2 separate regions of the Homo sapiens genome follow, and region 1 is linked to region 2. Evidence: promoter capture Hi-C in human tissues and cell types (Jung and others, 2019). All regions are on one chromosome and are shown on one strand. The core of a region is centred on a gene start or on the middle of the fragment in contact, and the rest is flanking DNA. Distances in the headings are between cores, read along the strand shown.

Region 1 (3,715 bases), core at 924-3,423, 590 kb before region 2:
GCGTGCGCCATCACACCCGGCTAATTTTTGTATTTTTAGTAGAGACGGGGTTTCACCATGTTGGCCAGGCTGGTCTCAAACTCCTGACCTCAGGTGATCCACCCATCTCGGCCTCCCAAAGTGCTGGGATTACAGGCCTGAGGCATCACGCCCAGCCTTTGTTTTAACAGACAGGGTCTTGATCTGTTGCTTAGGTTGGAGTGTAATGGCACAATCATAGCTCATTGCATCTTTGAACTTTCGAGCATAAGTGATCCTCCTGCTTTGGCTTCCCCCAAGTAGCAGGAGCACATCACTACATCCCGCTAATTTTTAATTATTATTATTATTATTATTTTTGAGACGAAGTCTTGCTCTTGTCCCCCAGGCTGGAGTGCAATGGTGCGATCTCGGCTCACTGCAACCTCTGCCCCCTGAGTTCAAGTGATTCTCCTGCCTCAGCCTACCGAGTAGCTGGGATTACAGGCGCCTGCCACCACACCTGGCTAATTTTTGTATTTTTAGTAGAGACGGTTTCACCACGTTGGCCAGGTTGGTCTCGAACTCTTGACCTCAGGTGATCCACCAGCCTCAGCCTCCCAAAGTGCTGGGATTACAGGCGTGAGCCACCGCGCCGGGCCCTAATTTTTATTTTTGCAGAGATTGGCGGGGGTGGGGGGTGGTCTCGCTATGTTGCCCAAGCTGGTCTTGAACTCCTGGCCTCAAGCGATCCTCCTGCCTCAGCCTCCCGAAGTGCTGAGATTACAGGTGTAAGCCACTGTGCTCCACAAATTCTTATGTTCTTATAACTTACTTTGGGGAGCAATTGGCAACAGGTACTAAATAAAGCTAGTATTGGCTAGAGAATGACAATTGCAGAACTTTCTTTTTTTTTTTTTGAGAGAGTGTCTCACACTGTGGCCCAGGCTGGAGTGCAATGGTGCGATCTCTGCTCACTGCGACCTCCACCTCCCGGGTTCAAGCAATTCTCCTGCCTCAGATTCCCAAGTAGCTGGGATTACAGGTACCCACCACCATGCATGGCTAATTTTTTGTATTTTTAGTAGAGACGGGGTTTCGCCATGATCGCCAGGCTGTCTTGAACTCCTGACCTCAGGTGTTCAGCCCGCCTCAGCCTCCCAAAGTGCTGGGTTTATGGGCATAAGACACCGTGCCTGGCCGCAGCACTTTTTTGAACAAGGGGACAACCACCTGCCTCTCAGTAGGGAATAAAGTGTGGATTACAGTTTATTTTATACAATGGAATTCATAAGCTGTTAAGATGAATGAATTAGATGTATAGGGATCCAAAGATAATTCTCAAAAGCCATGTTGAGACTAGATACGGCGGCATCTACTCGGGAGGCTGAGGCAGGAGGACAGCCTGAGCCCCAGGAATTCGAGTCCAGCCTGGGCAGCATAAGCAGACTTCTATGGACAGCAAAAGAGGGACTGTATCCCGCACAATGCCCTGCCAACAGGCATTCTCTATCTATCTATCTAGTCTGATATTATATACATATTCTGATATATACTTAAGTTCCTAATTATTAGATTAATAATATACTTAAGTTCCTAAGTAATTACACTAATAATACATAAATTCTTGTAATTATATGTAATTAGTGATATTATATTCTAATCATAATATATATTAGACTAATACATATATTCTAGCATATATATATTAGACATATATATTCTGATATATACTTAAGTTCCTAATGTTTTTATATGTGTAATATATATTATATATATGTAACATTAGTCTAAGGAATTTGTGGAGGCTAACAGAAGAGAGGTGCTTGCTGAATACGAGAGCAGGCCACAGGAACAAGATCGGATGCAAGTGGGTGGGGGTGGAAAGATCGAAGAATCTGGCAGCCAGATCTCAAGAGCTGGCGGGGTTGGAGTGGTCTGTCCGGGAGAGGTCTGGAGGTTGCTGGGGCCGGAAGGGGTTAAAATTCGACTGGGAAGAGGGTGTTAGCACCGTACCTTTCTCATTGCGAACTGGGACGGCCCCAGCCGTAGACTGAATGGGCGGTTGCTTCATGAGAGCGCTTGGGACCGACATGTTGATGGCAGCGACGGTGATTCCCGAAACTTGACTAATTCCAAACAGTGAACACCAGCAACGTCAACGAAGAGAAGAAATTCCTTCCACCTGAGTCCGCGAACACAGCTGCGCGACTGATAGAGAAACTACTTACGGCTGAGCTAGATAAACCGGAAATACGTGACGAGAGGATTGTGGGATGGTGGACGACGTTTGGGCGCCCACAGCTAGGAAGTCGAGTCGGTTTCTGCGCATGCTCATTGGCTGCCCGCATGTCCTCTACGTCGCAGAATTTGGAAGCAGCTTTTGGCGGGAAATTTTGCTTCCTTTGGGCTTTGCTGTTAGGACTCTGCGGTGAGGAAGGTTCGAATGAAAGATTTTACGTGTTAGCTTGGTTTGAAGCCAAGAACGGTATAGTGAATAAGAAACTCAGGCGACAGTGAGTTACTGTTTGAATGGCTTGTTGAAAGCTCAGAAGAAGTAGAGTTTGATGGAATAAAAATCTTGCCAGTAGTATCCGATTAGCTTAGTTCATAAGGCCAGGGTGGGCTGTGGTGCGGTATTTGGTTTCACAGGGCAGGTGGTGCTGATTTAGGCCAGTGACCGAAAAAAAAAAAAAAAAAACTCCCGAGGTGCCTGGGACATTGCCCACCTGAAATCCCAAAACTCCACTTTTTTAGGCTTTCAGGTTTTTCCAGTTTCTGGAAACTACCTATTAAAATACATTCCTGGCTAGAAAATGTTTGTATTTAAATATCTAAGTAATTATTATTCTTTTGAGACTGTCTTTTTCTGTCACCCAGGCTGGAGTGCAGTGGCTCGATCTCAGCTCACTGCAGTCTCCACCTCCCGGGTTTAAGCAATTCTCGTGCCTCAGCCTTCTGATTAGCTGGGATTACAGGCGCCTGCCACCACTCCCTGCTGATTTTTGTATTTTTAGTAGAGACGAGGTTTCACCATGTTGGCCAGGCTTAAGTGATCCGCCCACTCCGGCCTCCCACAGTGCTGAGTGTTGGCGTGGGCCACCACTCCCGGCTAATTTTTGTATTTTTAGTAGAGGCAGGGTTTCGCCATGTTGCCCAGGCTGGTCTTGAACTCCTGACCTCAGATGATCCACCTACCTCGGCCTCCCCAAAGTGCTGGGATTACAGAGGTGAGCCACCGCACCCGGCCTATTTAAGAACTCTTTAAGGACTTACAGGATAATAACAGAAGCAGCTCCAATTTACAAGCTGAGTCGTGTTAAAAAATATATATAATATTGGCTAATTGGAAAGTCAGGACACATTTCACAGTAGAAAGGACTTTATAACTGCGGGGGAGACAAGGGACAGTAGGAACAAAGTCTTAAAGTCCAGAAACAGTATGTTTTATACAGGACACCATGAAAAGTTTGGTTTTATCAGTAATTTTTGAGTCATGAGGGGCCTTGAAGTTGCTATTAATATGATTAACCCAAATTACTTCACCTGTGTTCTACAATTGGGCCTTGAGTGGGAGAAGAAATGAAACTGGACAAATCTCAGGCAAGGAACAGTGTGGGACCCAACTAAGCAACCAAGGAAACAGTTTTGGGCTAGAAGGAACCTTAAAGAGAATAGCCAGAATCTTATTTTATTATTTATAGAAGAGGGTCTTGCTCTGTCGCTCAGGCTGGAGTTCCGCGCAATCACGGCTCAC
Region 2 (3,422 bases), core at 221-2,720:
AGGTGGGAGGATTACTTGAGGCCGGGAGGTTGAGACTGCAAGTGAGCCATGATAATACCACTACACTTGAGCCTGGCCAACAGAGCAAGATTCTGTCTCAGAAAAACAAACAAACAAACAAACAAAAAAACCTCTTCAGCAGTCTCATTTCAAAACCTGTAATTTGCAGCAAAATTAGAAAAGAAGGATTGCTATTGGCAGGTAAATTGACAAGAAGGCAAAGTGATCACAACTCATAGCCAAGAAAGAGCCAGAAAAATCTGTAATAGCCAAATAAATCAAACTCCATAGCACTATTTGGAGTAATTTAATACAGCCACTCAAAGAGGCTTTGAGGATTTTAGTAACAGTAATCTTTTTTTTCTGTTTAGTTAAGAAAAGGTTAAACTTTGGTTGTTATACCCCATTTAGGAAGCCAAGAGGAAGCTACTTTTGCAGAGACGTAAAGAAATTCACTAAAATGTTAAATGTTGGGATTATGAGTGACTTTTATTTTTCTGTCTTTTATAATTTTAAAAATACTAATATTGGATACTTTTATAATTTAGAAAAAAAAATTGATGTTTAAAAGCCTGAAAATGTGTACAGAAATGTTTCTACCAAAGCTTTAATTTAAAGGACTAAATATCATCTATATAGAAATAATATATTTAGGCTGGGCACTGTGGCTCACGCCTGTAATCCCAGCACTTTAGGAGGCCGAGGTGGGCAGATCACCTGAGGTGAAGAGTTTGAGACCAGCCTGGCCAACATGGTAAAACCCCGTCTCTACTAAAAATACAGAAATTAGCCAGGCATGGTGACAGGTGCCTGTAGTGCCAGCTACTTGGGAGGCTGAGGTAGGAGAATCGCTTGATCCTGGGAGACAGAGGTTGCAGTGAGCCAAGATCGCACCACTGCACTCCAGCCTAGGCAACGGAGTGAGAGTCGGTCTCAAAAAAAAAAAAAAGACTACATTTATATAAAAATATTAACTCCTCAATATTTGTGCGTTCCTAAAGTTTTACTAGTTATGTCTATCTGGCTCTATTTCTGTTTGTCTGTCATCTATGTCTATTTTCTAAAGATTTGTTAAAATTAATCTTGCAAAATAGTTCCACATACTTTTCACTCTTTAGCCAAGCAACTAAGAAATAGAACACTATTTGTACTAGGTGTAAAATAACAAGCAGGAAACTACCTTAAGGCTATGAAAAACTGAGACATTAATTGGATTTCTGCAGTGATTTAAAAAATAATATGTTGATACAAAATTATTTTACTTACAGATGATGAAGAACGAGAGCTTCAAATGGATCCTGCAGACTATGGAAAGCAACATTTCAATGATGTCCTTTAAGTCCTAAAGGAATGCTTCAGAAAACCTAAAGTGCTGTAAAATGAAATCATTCTACTTTGTCCTTTCTGACTTTTGTTGTAAAGACGAATTGTATCAGTTGTAAAGATACATTGAGATAGAATTAAGGAAAAACTTTAATGAAGGAATGTACCCATGTACATATGTGAACTTTTTCATATTGTATTATCAAGGTATAGACTTTTTTGGTTATGATACAGTTAAGCCAAAAACAGCTAATCTTTGCATCTAAAGCAAACTAATGTATATTTCACATTTTATTGAGCCGACTTATTTCCACAAATAGATAAACAGGACAAAATAGTTGTACAGGTTATATGTGGCATAGCATAACCACAGTAAGAACAGAACAGATATTCAGCAGAAAACTTTTTATACTCTAATTCTTTTTTTTTTTTTTTTTGAGACAGAGTTTTAGTCTTGTTTCCCAGGCTGGAGTGCAATGGCACAATCTTGGCTCACTGCAACCTCCGCCTCCTGGGTTCAGGCAATTTTCCTGCCTCAGCCTCCCAAGTAGCTGGGATTACAGGCACCCACCACCATGCCCAGCTAATTTTTGTATTTTTAATAGAGAGCTAATAATTGTATATTTAATAAAGACGGGTTTCACCATGTTGGCCAGGCTGGTCTTGAACTCCTGACCTCAGGTGATCCTCCTGCATTGGCCTCCCAAAGTGCTGGAATTCCAGGCATGAGCCACTGCGCCCAGTCTACACACTAATTCTTGTTAGCCCAACAGCTGTTCTGTTCTATCTACCCCTCATTTCACGCTCAAGGAGTCATACCTAGAATAGTTACACACAAGAGGGAAACTGGAAGCCAAACACTGTACAGTATTGTGTAGAAAGTCACCTCCCTACTCCTTTTATTTTACATGAGTGCTGATGTGTTTTGGCAGATGAGCTTTCAGCTGAGGCCTGATGGAAATTGAGATAACCTGCAAAGACATAACAGTATTTATGAGTTATATCTTAGTTCTTGAAATTGTGGAATGCATGATTGACAATATATTTTTAATTTTTATTTTTTCAAGTAATACCAGTACTGTTTAACTATAGCCAGAACTGGCTAAAATTTTTATATTTTCAGAGTTGAAGTTGGTGAAGACATTCATGATTTAAACACCAGATCCTGAAAGGGGTTAAATCTACTTTGAAATGAATCTGCAATCAGTATTTCAAAGCTTTTCTGGTAATTTTAGTGATCTTATTTGATTAGACTTTTTCAGAAGTACTAAATAAGGAATTTTAACAGGTTTTTATTAATGCACAGATAAATAGAAGTACAGTGAGGTCTATAGCCATTTTATTAAAATAGCTTAAAAGTTTGTAAAAAAATGAATCTTTGTAATTACTTAATATGTTAGTTAAGAACCCGTCAAGCTTATATTTGCTAGACTTACAAATTATTTTAAATGCATTTATCTTTTTTGACACTATTCAGTGGAATGTGTAAGCTAGCTAATTCTTGTTTTCTGATTTAAAGCACTTTTAAATCTTATCCTGCCCCCTAAAAACAAAAGGTTTTGATCACAAGGGGAAATTTAAGATTGTTAACCCTGTTTTTCAGAAGGGCTACTGTTAATTGCACATAAACATGAAATGTGTTTTCCCCTGTGTACTAACACATTCTAGGCAAAATTCAAACTTATAGTGGTAAAGAAACAGGTTGTTCACTTGCTGAGGTGCAAAAATTCTTAAGACTTCTGTTTGAAATTGCTCAATGACTAGGAAAAGATGTAGTAGTTTACTAAAATTGTTTTTCTACCATATCAAATTAAACAATTCATGCCTTTATAGGGTCAGGCCTACAATGAATAGGTATGGTGGTTTCACAGAATTTTAAAATAGAGTTAAAGGGAAGTGATGTACATTTCGGGGGCATTAGGGTAGGGAGATGAATCAAAAAATACCCCTAGTAATGCTTTATATTTTAATACTGCAAAAGCTTTACAAATGGAAACCATGCAATTACCTGCCTTAGTTCTTTTGTCATAAAAACAATCACTTGGTTGGTTGTATTGTAGCTATTACTTATACAGCAACATTTCTTCAATTAGCAGTCT

What was found. The method cuts DNA at HindIII sites, captures the fragments that hold promoters and counts their contacts. A contact is called where the count stands out against the background at its distance.
Region 1: the fragment with the promoter of MFAP1 here is called in contact with a fragment that was not itself captured in region 2 in 2 of the 25 tissues and cell types used here (H1 embryonic stem cells and dorsolateral prefrontal cortex).

What each region holds. Positions count from the first base shown.
Region 1 is chr15:43,822,517-43,826,231 of GRCh38, forward strand. MFAP1 (microfibril associated protein 1) reads right to left here and starts at 2,174. Exons shown (of 9, transcript NM_005926.3): 1 at 1,975-2,174. The coding sequence starts at 2,053. RefSeq lists enhancers at 1,978-2,237, 1,990-2,621. The HindIII fragment of the contact is 35,410 bases long and covers 1-3,715 here.
Region 2 is chr15:44,412,068-44,415,489 of GRCh38, forward strand. GOLM2 (golgi membrane protein 2) reads left to right here. Exons shown (of 10, transcript NM_138423.4): 10 at 1,269-3,422. The coding sequence ends at 1,339. Among named protein-coding and RNA genes, the nearest start is that of CTDSPL2, 14 kb to the right of the region's middle. The HindIII fragment of the contact is 3,102 bases long and covers 1-3,021 here.